Regions from separate parts of the Homo sapiens genome. Here region 1 is linked to region 2. Evidence: promoter capture Hi-C in 16 types of primary human blood cells and fetal thymus (Javierre and others, 2016). All regions are on one chromosome and are shown on one strand. The core of a region is centred on a gene start or on the middle of the fragment in contact, and the rest is flanking DNA. Distances in the headings are between cores, read along the strand shown.

The links. Contacts are between HindIII fragments. The CHiCAGO score rates a contact against its expected background, and 5 or more counts as called.
Region 1: a contact is called between the fragment with the promoter of SPHK1 here and a fragment that was not itself captured in region 2, in 1 of 17 cell types (naive B cells). The highest score is 5.1, in naive B cells.

The regions. Positions count from the first base shown.
Region 1 is chr17:76,379,588-76,385,858 of GRCh38, reverse strand. SPHK1 (sphingosine kinase 1) reads right to left here and starts at 1,250. Exons shown (of 6, transcript NM_001142601.2): 1 at 1,053-1,250; 2 at 205-408. The coding sequence starts at 214. RefSeq lists silencers at 883-1,582, 2,163-2,302, 2,323-2,612. The HindIII fragment of the contact is 9,575 bases long and covers 1-5,489 here.
Region 2 is chr17:76,541,638-76,548,329 of GRCh38, reverse strand. It overlaps PRCD (photoreceptor disc component), which reads right to left. Exons shown (of 5, transcript NM_001077620.3): 3 at 5,697-5,777; 4 at 5,209-5,301; 5 at 2,954-4,527. The coding sequence ends at 5,756. It also overlaps a transcript of CYGB not described here. Among named protein-coding and RNA genes, the nearest start is that of PRCD, 4.9 kb to the right of the region's middle. RefSeq lists an enhancer at 517-1,020. The HindIII fragment of the contact is 237 bases long and covers 1,386-1,622 here.

The DNA of each region.
Region 1 (6,271 bases), core at 1-2,500, 160 kb after region 2:
CGGCCTTTGCTGGGAGACCTGGGGTGGGGACGCGGCGCCCCTGCCACCCCCTTCCTTGGCTCAGATTCGGCCGGCTTCTGGCCTCGTGAGGGATAATGTTTCTCCCGATCGTCCACAGCCCCTTTCGTCCAGCTGGGCGTTCCATCATTCCTGGCGAGGAACAGGAATCCCCCTACAGCCCTTCCCAGCAGGAACCCCACAAACCTGGATCCATAACCTCGACCCGCGGCTCCCGCTGCCAGGGGGTCCCTGGCGCTGTGGGGGCGCTGCCCGTGGCGGCGGCTCCTGCCTTCAGCTCCTTATCGGTGCTGCCCAGGCGGGCGTCGCAGGGCCGGCTGTGGGGCTCGCCTTCCCCGCCCGGAGCCGTGGCTGCAGGAGCACCGGCGTCATTCCCTGCGGCGGCTGGACCTGAGGGAGAGAAGACAGCGCTGGCGGAGTCCGGGGCCGCAGCTGCCAGAGGTGGGGAGCGCCCGACTAAATCCCGGGACCACGCGCGGGGAGCCAGGTTCCCGGGAAGTCCAGAGAGCTGAGGTCCGGTGCCTCCGAGGGCGCCCCCGCCGTGTGACTAAGCCTACAATCCCTGAGAAGGGCGCCTGCTCCGGGGCTTTCTCCCTGGGGCTTGGGGTTCGGTTCCGGCCCGACGGATGAGTCAGAGCCCCGTGGCTCCCTCCGACGGACTAGCTCCTCACCCCTCGGGGCTGCCAGGGGGAGGGGAGTCCAGCTGCGTAAAAATCCCAGAACTTGAGCGGACATTGCTGGGCACGAAGTTCTGGGAGAGGATCCCTGCCCCAGCCATCCAGGTTGCCGTGTCCCCTGCCCGGAGCTCCAGAGCGGTGGGAGCCGCGGCGCGCGCTTCTCAGGGCCCCGCTCCGTTGCGACGCGCGCGGCGCTCGTGGGAGCCGCTCCCGGGTCGCGCCAAAGCCAAGCCCGAACCGGGCCACCAGCTGCCGCCTGCTCTCGCCCAAGCGACAAGTGGCCCAGTTCCCGGGGCCCCGCGAGGGCGGGCCGCACAGGAGCCACGAGCGGCGCGAAGGCAGGGTGGGCGGCCCTACCCAGTCGGTCCGGTTTGCTGGGGAGGCGCCACCGCCGTTCCCTACAGTGGCCTGGGGCGGAACGCAGCTCGTCCCAAGCTCAGCCCACGTCTGAGGGACTGGAGCGCCCCGCTGGAGCGGACTCCCCGGCCTCGCTCCCTCCGGCCTCAAACTTTTCGCTCAACTTCGCAGCCGGCGCCGCGGAGCGGGGAGGGCACTGAGCCTCGGCGCCGGCCTGGCTCCGCCCCGCGCTCCCGGGGGTGGAACCTGAGCCCGGCGCGGCCTCGGCCTCTGCCCGCCTCCGGCCTCAGCGCGCCGCCTCCGGCACGGCCCGCGCCCACGGCCGGGCCACGAGCTGGTTCCCGCCCGGGTCCTAGGAAGCGGCAAGCGCGCCCCCGCCGCTCGTCCTAGGCGTCTGGCTAGAAGGCGGCGCCGCGACCTGGCCGGGTGAGCTGAGGCGGCAGGCCGCGAGGCGCGGAGTCCCGGGCCCGGCCGCGAGCGCAGTGTCTGGGGCGCGCGAAAGCGACCGCGCAGCGCAGACGGAGGCGCGGGCTCCGCGCGAACTCGTGTCGGAGCGAGCGCCGGGCGCGCGCGGCTCCGCTCTCCCGGGGGACCCTTGGTTTCACCTCGACGCCACGACCTCGCCCCCGCGGGTGCTGTCGGCGCCGGGATGCAGCGCCCCTTTTGCGCGCTCTGCCCTAGCCCACCCGAAATTCGAGGCCCGCACGCCACCCGGGGCGCCTCTCCAGGCCGGGGCGTCTCGCCCGCCGCCCACCAGCTTCCCTCTTTCTTCCTCCCCCGCGCTCCCACGGAGGTTATTTTTAACTTCCCGACGCTGCAGCTGGGCTACCGAGCCTGAGGCCGCCTAGCGCGCTGTCCCGGGTAGAGCAGGCGACAGGCCGGGGGCTCCGAGCCGGAGAGGAGGCTTGACAGTGTAGATGGGCCTGGGGGCCCCCGTCGGGATTGGAAAGCCAAGCATGTGGTACGTGCCCCCCGCCCCCTCTGGCTCAGCGTGAAGAAGGGGCGCCGGAAACGCGCTCAGAAGTTGTCACTTCTTTGGAGGCCAGTAGGGACGCGTTTGTCAGTGTGTTTGTGATACACTTATCGCGGCAAGCCACAGAACGTGTCCGCGAGCACCTCGAGTTAGATCCCTGGGGGGTTACGGCGGAGACGGAGGAAGAAGTTGCCAAGGCCCATTGGTGACCTGCCCAGGTAGGGCCAGAGTTAGGAGAAACCAAGCCCCTGCGGGAGGCTGCGGGGCTCGCGCGCCCCCGCCGGCCCCACCCGCCCCCACACACCTCTCTCATCGCTTCTTAAAGTCGAGAAGAGGCAGGTCCAGGAGGAGCACGCAGCCAATTAGCCGGGCGGCGCCCTGAACTCCGGCACGCCTCCGCGGTGTCTTCTCTTCCGGAGGACCCAGGCAGCTCGGCCCCGTTTCCCAACACTTGGGGGGTCAGACGGGCGGGACCCGAGAGTCCCCGGGCGGGTCGGGGGGCACTGGCTGGGACGCGGGGTCCCTGGGGCCGCAGCTCCGCGCGCGTATCGGCGGGTGCGCCTTCGCCTTGCGCGGCCCCCGGGCAGTCCCCGCTGGGTCCAGAGCGTCCCGAGCGCGTTCCGGGAAGGTGACTCAGCGACGCGCTCAGGGGTCGAAAAACTCCGAGAAACAGGAACGAGGGGAGGGAGCAGGGGCGTCATCCCCGACTCCTGGCGTCGCGGCGCGTGTCGGAATGATGGGTCCTGCACCTCCGAGCCCCCCACCCCCTTGCTCCAGGAATCCGGCGCGGGCGGGGGAGAGAGCCCTGCAGCCGCAGTGCCGCGGTCATGCGCTGCGGGGACGCGAGCGGCGGCTGTGGGAGGAGGGGGCTCCGCGCGGGAGCCCAGGACCAGATCCGTCCGCCCCTCCCCTCTCCTCTGCCTTCTTCCCCTCCTCTTCCTCCAGCGAGGGACTTTGGTGCCTAGAAAACGCGAATCGGAGGCTGTGCTCCCCGAGATCTCAGCCTTCGAGGGTACTGGCTGCGGAGATTAGCTGGGGCAGCCTTCCCCGTCTGCTCCCCGCCCCGGAGAGCATTTCCACCAAATCTGAAAAGCTCTGTCATTAGCCATAGAGTCTGAAGAGGGGAAACTGAGGCACAGGGAAGCACTGTGAGTTCGTGGTGATAAAGCCCACCTGGTTCAGGGTCCCCCCTTTTTTTTTCCTCCTGGGGCCCCAGAAAGGTCGGATCCTGCGCCTCCAGGCCCACTACCACCAGCCTTGAGTCCGCGGAGCGGGCGGGGGCGGGGTTGACTGCAAACTGAGTTGGCAAGGGGAGGCGGGGCACGGGCTCTTTATCCAACGCCTCCGGGCCCCAGCTCCCCTCCTGGCTCTGGAAGGCCCCGCGGGAGGGAGGCGAAGGGCAAAGCCCTCTGGCCCCGGTTCCAGGCCGCACAATGGGTCCTCTGTCCTCCCTGGCGCCTAACCCCCTGCCCCCCTCACCTCCAAGGCCTTTGCCCCCCTCATTCTTGTCATTCACTTCCCCCAACCCAGGCTGCCTTTCTCCAGACCCCTTTCCCCTTCTCCCTTTCTAAAGAATTTGATCCTATCTCCAGAAACTCCCCCAGCTGCATCCCTGCTCAGAGAGGCAGGATTGGCCAAGAGCAAGATGGTTCCCCTTCCCACGGTTGCGGGTCGGGGGGCGGGCACTTGGATCTCTCAAGCTGCCAGCTTGGCCCGTTTCCCACTGTACTTTACTTCCTTTTTTAAAAAAGAAAAAAGGACAAGGCGGGAAGGAGTTGGGGGGGCCTGAAACCCTGAGAGGTGAAGAGGCTTGCACAAGCCTCCAACCAGTTCCCCACAAAGCAGAGAAGCAAACCTGTGAACCCAGACCCCACGCTGAGAAGCCAAGTCCAGCCAGAGCTCCCCTCTGGGCCTCTCTGTATCCCAGGCTATTTCTCCCTGAAGGGCAGGTATCTGGGGATCTGGTGCCTGGTGGATTGCTTGCCGCAGAGCTGTGGCGTCTCCCTGAGGAGGAGGAAGCAGCAGGCCGGGCGCAGTGGCTCACTCCTGTAATCCTAGCACTTTGGGAGGCCGACGTGGGTGGATCACCTGAGATCGGGGGTTGGAGACCAGCCTGACCAACGTGGAGAAACCCGTCTCAAACCCCGTCTCTACACCGGGTGTGGTGGCGCATACCTGTAGTCCCAGCTACTTGGGAGGCTGAGGCAGGAGAATTGCTTGCACCCAGGAGGCAGAGGTTGTGGTGAGCTGAGATCGTCCCATTGCACTCCAGCCTGGGTGACAGGGCGAAACTCCATCTCAAAAAAAAAAAGAAAGAGGAAGCAGCTCCAAGCCCTCCCCAGGCTTCATCCTGAGTCTGGAAACAGCTGAGCAGCCGCTGTGCTCAGCAAGGCCCACCGTGGGCCTGGGAACAGGCCTGGGCCGGCAGAGAGGTCTGATTTGATCACCAACCCAGAGCTTGGCTTGCAGGTAATCTGCTTCACAGGTGGGAGACTTTTTCTAACTTCCCCAGCCTCCCCTTCCTTGTGGGCAGCCTCCCCAGGGAGACACACCTGAGAACCCCCTTTTTTCTTTTCCCGAGAAAGAAAGCAGGCATTCACCTGGCCTGGTCCCAGCTCTCCAGAAACTTGGAGTCAAGGCTGCCAGATGGCAAATTACTTGCTTTTATGAGGAGAGGATTCCTGCCATCTCACCCTTCCCTGAAGCTACCTTCCCTAGGAGATTTCAGCTCCCTAATTGCATAGCCTCAAGGTCTTCCTTGACCTCAACTTCTTTCCCTTTTTTTTTTTTTGAGACAGAGTCTCGCTCTGTTGCCCAGGCTGAGGCTGGAGTGCAGTGGCGCGATCTTGGCTCACTGCAACCTCTGCCTCCCGGTTTCAAGCAATACTCTTGCCTCAGCCTCCCGAATAGCTGTGATTACAAGTGTGAGCCACTGCACCTAGCTAATTTTTGTATTTTTAGTAGAGTTTGTGTTTCACATGTTGGCCAAGCTGGTCTCAAACTCCTGACCTCAAGTGATCCGCCTGCCTCGGCCTCCCAAAGTGCTGGGGTTATAGGCATGAGCCACCACTCCGGTTTTTCCCTTTTTATGGTACTTTACTGCCTAGGGGGTTGCAAGGACCGGGGAAGGGGGAGGTTCTATCTCACAAGCTCTTTGAGCTTAGGGGCCGGGCACGGTGGCTCACATCTGTAATCCCAGCACTTTGGGAGGCCAAGGCGGGTGATCATGAGGTCAGGAGATTTGAGACCATCCTGGCCAACATGGTGAAACCCCCGTCTCTACTGAAAATACAAAAATTAGCTGGGTGTTGTGGTGCATGCCTGTAATCCTAGCTACTTGGGAGGCTGAGGCAGGAGAATCGCTTGGACCCGGGAGGCGAAGGTTGCAGTGAGCTGAGATGGTGCCACTGCACTCCTGCCTGGGGACAGAGCAAGACTATGTCTCAAAAAAAAAAAAAAAAGCTTAGGGCTGGTTGGGCGCAGTGGCTCACGCCCGTAATCCCAGCACTTTGGGAGGCTGAGGCGGGTGGATCACGAGGTCAGGAATTTGAGACCAGCCTGGCCAAGATGATGAAACCCCATCTCTACTAAAAATACAAAAATTCGTCGGACGCGGTGGCAGGTGCCTGTAGTCCCAGCTGCTCAGGAGGCTGAGACAGGAGAACTGCTTGAACCCAAGAGCGAGCCGAGATTGCACCACTGTACTCCAGCCTGGGCAACAGAGCAAGACTCCGTCTCAAAAAAAGAAAAAGAAAAAAAAAAGCTTAGCGCTGCCCCCACATGGCTTTCCATTCTCAGTTTCCTAGATGTCATTTCCAGGTCGACCATACCAGGCATTGGGGTGGAGGGGATGCCACGCGCCACACGTGGCCACATGTGGAGATCCAGAGGACCAGACTGGTCATGCGAGATTCTTGGCTGCTTGCAGGGAGTGTGTGCTTTGCCCGAGTTTCTGATTCTCCCCAGTGGTTTGACTATGATGAGTGTATGGTGGGGTGACCCTAGCTCTATCCCTTGGGTGGTCTCCTTGTCCTTGTCGTCCTTGCTGAGGCTGGGGACCCAGGTCTCTTCTGGGCCTCTGGGCTCTGCCTGTCACATGCCCTCACCTCCAGGCTGCTGACTGTGGCTGCAATTCAGGGTGATTCTCTTCAGAGCCCTCTCAAGGTGGCGAGCTGCAGCCCTACCCACTCCATTTGTCTCAGCTGCCTGCCCAGCATCTATAGGCATTTGTATTAGTGTCCTGGTG
Region 2 (6,692 bases), core at 255-2,754:
CTGCATATGATACTGTGTGTATTTGTGTATGTGTATGTCTCTCTGTGTGTATGTATGTTTATGTGTATCTGTGTGTGTGACTGTGTGTATGTGTATGCTATGTGTGTCTATAAGTGTATATGTCTGTATGTGTGTAAATGTGTATGTGTCGGTGTATATGTGTGTGTGTATGTGTGAATGTGTATGTCTGTGTATGCATGTGTATCTGTGATTATGTGTGTGTGTTTCTGTGTGTCTGTTTTATTTGTGTGTGTACATGTATGTCTGTGTGTATGTGTGTGAATGTTCGTATATGTGTATGTCTGTGTATGCATGTGTATGTGTGAATGTGTGTGTGAATGTGTATGTATGTGTATGTTTATGTGTATGTGTGTGTATATGTGTGTGAATATGTTTGTATATGTGTATGTGTGTGTGAATGTGTTATGTGTGTCTGTGTGTATGTGTATGTGTGTGAATATGTATATGTGTATGTCTGTGTGTGTGTGAATGTGTGTTGTGTGTGTGTGTGTGAATGTGTGTCTCTGTGAATGTGTGTATGTCTGTGTGTGTATTATATGTTTGTATAGGTATATGACTGTGTTTGTGTATGTGTGTGTGTGAATGTATGTGTCTCTGTGTGTGTGTGTCTGTGTGTGTGAATGTGGGTGTCTCTGTGTGTGAATATGTGTGTGTGTGTGTGTGTGAATGTGTGTGTGTTCACATAGGGACAGGATTGGCCTCTCCTCCCCAGGTGCACAGGCTGAGTCTGTTAGTAAATTTTTAAAAATTTTCTCAGTCCCCCACTACAGTCATCATCCCCACTAGGGGGCACATGTGTCACACAGAGAGGGTCTGTGCTCCTTAGGCACAAGGACTGGCTTCCCACTGTCAGCGGATCCCCCTGAAAGCCACCTCCTTGGTCTCCATGGCCTGCACCCTCCCCCTGCAAAAACAAATCAAAACAACCTTCCTCACCAGGCTCCGCATCTCCAGCTGGGCTGCTGGCTGCCATCCTGTCCTCTCCCCAGGGCCCTGCCCCTGGCTGAAGGAGGCAACAGAGTGGCAGTTGCAGTGACTGTGGGTGATGACCTCGCTGTCTGTCATCCCTGCCAGAGGCCACCACATCCTTCCTGAGGAAGACTGAGGGGTCCTAAAGGGGCAGCTCTCCTCTCCCCCTCACCTGGCAGGCAAGAACCAGCCTCTCAGGGCCTAGAGTCTGGTCTGCCCTTGAATGTGAGTTCCTGAAGACAGATTGGTGGCAATGACCCTGGCCAACACCAGCCCACTTGCAAAGGCAGGCTGGGCGGGACCACAGCTCCATTCCTTGTGCCTTGTAGACAGGTCACAATCAAAATTTCCTCACGGCCCCCAACTCGAGACTTGGGCCCCCTCTATCCCAAGCTTTGGTGTCAGATTTCCCAGGCTCAGGTCCTGGCTTCACTGCCAGCTATGAGTGACCTTGAGCAAGTTCTGTGAACCTCACTTTCCTTATTGGATAAATGATAACAGTTCCTGCCGCATAAATGAAACAGTGCGTAAAATACAGCAGCTGGCACAGTGCCTAGCACATAGTAAGCGCCCAATGCATGTTAGTGGTTATTAATCATACGATTAGTATCATCATTATGTTAACATAAGCTTCCGTGCGAACCAAACTGTTCTTCTGAGGTTCACAAAGAAGCATTATCTTCCTCTAGCTCTAGGTCTTGGGCTTCTTCCTAACAGTGAGGCCCCCCACAGAGAGGCTACGGGAGCCTGAGGAACCAGCAGGGTTTGCTCTCTCGCCATTGTGCCTGTCTCATAGTGGGCACTGTGCCCTACCCATCTAGTCTTGGCCCACCACCTGTACTGTTTGCCCTTGCCCAGGACTGCGCGCACACACACACACACACACACAAACCACACACACACACAACCGCACACTTGGAATGGGTGGGTACTCCCCAAGGTGACATCTACACCCCAGGGTGACAGTGGACAGCCACAGCTGCAGTGGCTACTTCCCTGGCTCCCACCACACCCCCACCGCCTCATTAGTTCCCTGGTCATGCTCCAGTCTCCAGGAGAGACTGGCAGCCGCTCTGAGCCTCAGTTGCAGGAGCAGCACCTCCCTGCTCCTGGTTGCTGCCCTCAGCCGCCCTGCAGCTCCAAGCAGCCTTTCCCCGTCACTCAGGCTCCCCCAGCAGAGATATTAGCATTCACACGGAGGAAGGTACCACAGCAGGGCAGCGCCTCCCGTCTTGTCAAGGAGCTGAGGTTCATTCCGGAAGCAGAGCCAGCTGGGAGTGGCGCTGTCCAGGTCGAGGTCACCACTGGAGGTTGGGACATGGTTCTGGGCACAGAGAGGCAGTGGTGGTCTTCTCCAGTACAGGCTTACAGGGGGCTTCCCCACCCCAGCAATGCCACCCTCTGCCATCCTCTGATCTGTTGCAGAACTACCGGTCGCCCAGCTCTGTGTATGTGGAGAGACGGCAGGAAGGACCAGAGAGTGAGGATGTGAGGAACTCTAGCCGTCCTGAATCTACCACTGTTCAGTAATTTACAGTTCAAACCGGATTGTGCCAGCTCACATATATGGGACACTTACCCAACATGCTAAGCATCTTCCACACGTTATCTAATCAACCCTTACAACTCTAAGAGACAGATACCAGTAGGATCTCCATCCTACAGCTAAAGAAACTGAGGCACAGAGGTGTTCAGAAACTTACCCAGGCCACAGAGGTAGGATGTGCTGGTGGAACAAGGTTCAAACCCAGGAGCTCTGACTCTGGACACCTTGCTCTTGGACTCTTGTTATTTCACAGTAGCCAGCACCCTAGACCAGAAGGGACCCCACCCTTTGGCTCAGCTCTCCCTCTCTAGCTGCCCTTTATCTGCCCTCTCCCAAGCCCCTGAGCACTCCTGCTCCCATTCCCAAGCAGCGGCTCTTTGCAAGGAAAGGGATGAAAAAGGACTCAGCCTCAGTGGGGACAGTGTCATAGTCAGGATTTAATTCCCCCATTTAAAGGTCCACCCTTGCCCTGAGCTTCACACTAAGCCCTGTGATGGGAGCCAGTGGGCCAAGGAAGGGGCACCCGGGTCCCAGGAGCCTTCTGTGGGGAGCTCTAGGCTGAGAGAGGTAACTTTCTGCAGCAGGAGCTGCAAATGTGCAGACTGCGCAGAGAGCCCAGGGGTGGGAGAGGCCCCGGGAATAAGAGGCGAGCGTGGGCTGGGTGTGCGGGGAAGGTGTAAACACAATCTGCTCCCACCAAAGCCAGCCTGCTCCCTGGGGGAGACAGCCCCCCCACCCGGCCCACATGGCACCCCAGCTGCCCAGGCAACCTCCAAGCCCAGGCAGCCACAGCCCCGCTGGCCGCCAGCAGCCCCTTCCTCTCTTTTTCCCGCCCTTCCTCTGGATGGATCCCTGGAGCAGCCACCACCTCCTGCGCAGGTTCTCGGAACAGTGGCGTGGAGGGGCGCTGCCCTGGGGAAGTGCGTCTGGGCCGTGAGCCAGCTCCATGACCTTGGCCTGACAATTCCTCAGACCAGTGGAAGGAGATGAGCAACTCGGAAATGGCAGCAAGGATGAGGTGACAGGAACATGGCAAATAGAGAATAAATGCAGATAGGATCGGGGAACACAGACTGGGTCCCGGGAACAGTGCCCTCTGGCCCTCAGCCTGACAGGCCTGTCACCAGGAAGGCCGATGCCTCCAAAGAGAGAGACAGGCTGACAGGAGCTGAGACAGGCGATCACGGGCTCACGGCCTGGGTCAGGCTGGCGCTCTGGCTTTGCCTCTGCAGGCTCCTTCCCTAGTGTGACTTTCCCCCTGCCTCCTGCCTGCCCTACTTTGAGAGGCTCCCACAGAACTGCCTTCGCACACACCCCAGCCAGGCTCCCCGAGGTACCAGCAGGCCCTCCCCAGCGGGGTGCACCTCCTCCCCCACCCTGAGCGCCTCCCCAGCGGTTCCCTCTGCTCTGCGGCATCCCTCACCCTTTCCCTTCCTTCCCTTCAGAGGCAGAGTGGCGGCTGAAGTGCTGCTGTCTAGAGAACTCCATCTTCTACTGCCTGGAAGTCAAGGGCACGGGCCAGCCAGGCAGAGACATCGCCGCTGGGCTGGGAGGGGGGCTGGCTGGGGAGGAGAGACGCGTGTGCACAGAGGCACGGGGGGTTTTTGAAGACTAATAGCTGTGAGACATCAGGAGCAGCTGCCTGCAGGGTCTGCTCCTGGATCTGGGAGCAGAAGCGGAAATCTGCTTTTATCTCTGCTCAGGATCATGCAGGATTGAAAAGAGAGAAATGGCAGAGCAGCTGGGGGCAAAGGAGGCAGCCGCCGGGACTGAGCATCAGCAAATTGATAAAAACAAGTGTCAGGCTTTTTCCTTCCCACACGCTACTGCCCGTTTGGAACACACGCGCTTGCACACATACAGAAAACACATTCGGAGGACAAGCTGTCCGTTGCTCCCATCCAGCTGCAGGCAGACATGTCACAGATCCAACTGGCATTTCTTATTGATAATTTCAGCAGAGCAGCCAGTGACAGGATGAGCTCTGGGAACTGGGGAAAGGCAAATGACACAAAAGCGAGTGCCACTGTGGCAAACCGACACCAGCACCTCGGACCACAAGTGGCGGCTTAACAGAATAGCTCCTGGGCTGACAGGCAGTTGGCCAGGCCAGCAAACCACCCCCAACCCCTGCAAACTGTTAGGTTCCAGGGGGAGGCCGCCTGCCATGGTGGGTAGGAGCGTGGGCTCTGCAGCTCCAGTGTGAGCCTGGGAGCCTCCACTTCCTAGCTAGGTGATGTTGGGCAAATTATTTAACCTGTCTCTGTGTTTCCCCATTTAGAAATTGTGGATAATAACATTACCAGGCTCTGTGGGTGACTGAAGATTAAATTACAGAATGAATGGAAGCCCTTGCTTAGTAAATGTGAGCTATCAGCCGTCCCTTGCTTCTGGGGTCTCCTCACTCCTTACTTATTCCTGCCTCTTGCCTGGGCTGCTGGCTGCCCCAGAATTAGCCTGGTGGACCCAGCAAGTCCCTCATCCTAGGCTTTCTCAGGCTCAGCAGTCCCTCAGAGGAGCCTCAGGAACTCAGAGGGAAGGAAGCCCGTCCGAGAGCAGCGAGCACGTCTGCTCTTTCTGCCAGGCCCAGCCAGGTCCTGCTCAGGAGCCCACACCCAGGGCCTGGGGGAAGGGGAGACTGGCAGGTCCCGGGCTGAGAGGGAGGCGTCTACCTTCTCTAGTGCTGCTTCCCCCCATTCTCCCTCTTGCCGCTGCTGCAGCTCCCACAGCATCCTCCTGGGCTAGGGGACGAACCAGGACCTGAGCTGAAACAGAAAACCAGAGCAGATCAGCACTTCTCCCACACCTGGGGATGGGACTCGCATTTCAGAGTGGATGTTTCCGAGCACCGCCTCTCCCTTGGGCGTCCTCCGACACTGCCCTCATGCCCCAGCACGACCACCTCGCCATCCCCAAGCCTAGAAAATGTGGTCAAACTACACCTGGTTCTCTTCAAACTCATCCTTGCCCCATGGCCCGGACCACAACAGGCTCAAGGTAGCAGCCAAAGGCATGAGTCCATCCGCCTACTTTGAACCTCCATCAGTGGCAAGAGCTGAACACTGCCTGCTATCCTCCCACATGGCCGGGACTTGCCTGTTGCTTCCTGCCTGTCCCAAGCCTTGCCCTCTGCCCTCCCCGGCTCCCAGCCCTGCCCTACCTGCCTGAGCCAGCTGATCCCAGTCTCTGGGCCTGAGCCCCACCTGCAGAGGTGAGGGCTTACTTCAGAGGTTCTTTCTCCCTAAACAGAGGAAAGCACTGGGGTCAGGATTGAAGGGCACGACCTTCCCATGTTTCTGACTCTCCTCTTCCTCCTCCTCCCATCCCTATCAATTCACCCCAATATTGAGGGGCAGGACCACCTAAGGAATCAGTTGGCATTTAGGACAGTGTGACTGGAGAGTAGAAATGTCACCCCCACTGCCAGCCTTCCACGGCAGCCACCATCGGCAGGTGGTTCCTCGATGTCAGACCAATTTTTCCAGTTAACTGGGTCCCAAGGAGTTAATAGGCAACTGCTTCCTTCTGGCTAAGTCACGCCAGGCCAGGCCTGGCCAGATGGTCCTCAGATTTGGCCTTTTCTCTCCTGCCAGGAGGTCCAGGCCCATTTCATGTAGAAGAGACCCTGCCTGGAATCGGGCCTGAGCATCCCGCATTAGCCACAAATGAGATAGATGATCTGGAGCAAGCCACCTAAATCTCCCTGTCCCTCAGTTTCCACAACCATTAACCAAAGATTAAAAACACATGTCCTGCCAATCCTCTGGGGTTACTGAGCCTCCCGAGTGACTTAATAGGTAGGAAACCTCTGGAGAAAACTAAAGCACAGGTCCCGAGCATGAAACAAGACAGCTGCTAGCATTTATGGAGCAATCACTCTGCACCCTCACCAAAACCTCACAACCACTGTTATTAATCCTAGTTTACATATAAATAAACTGATTGCATAAATTTCCCCCATAGTCTTTCCATTAGTAAGAGGGAAGCCAGAATTTAAATTCTCCCTGCCCAACTCTAGACCCGGGCTCAATAGCGTGGACCACCCAGCATTTGAGGGCCTCCTATCGGGGGAGGCCCAGGGGTGGTCATTGTAGCTGATTTAACTAGTGATATCAATTAGGCACTATTATGATGATGCCAGCTGGCCTATCGAGTT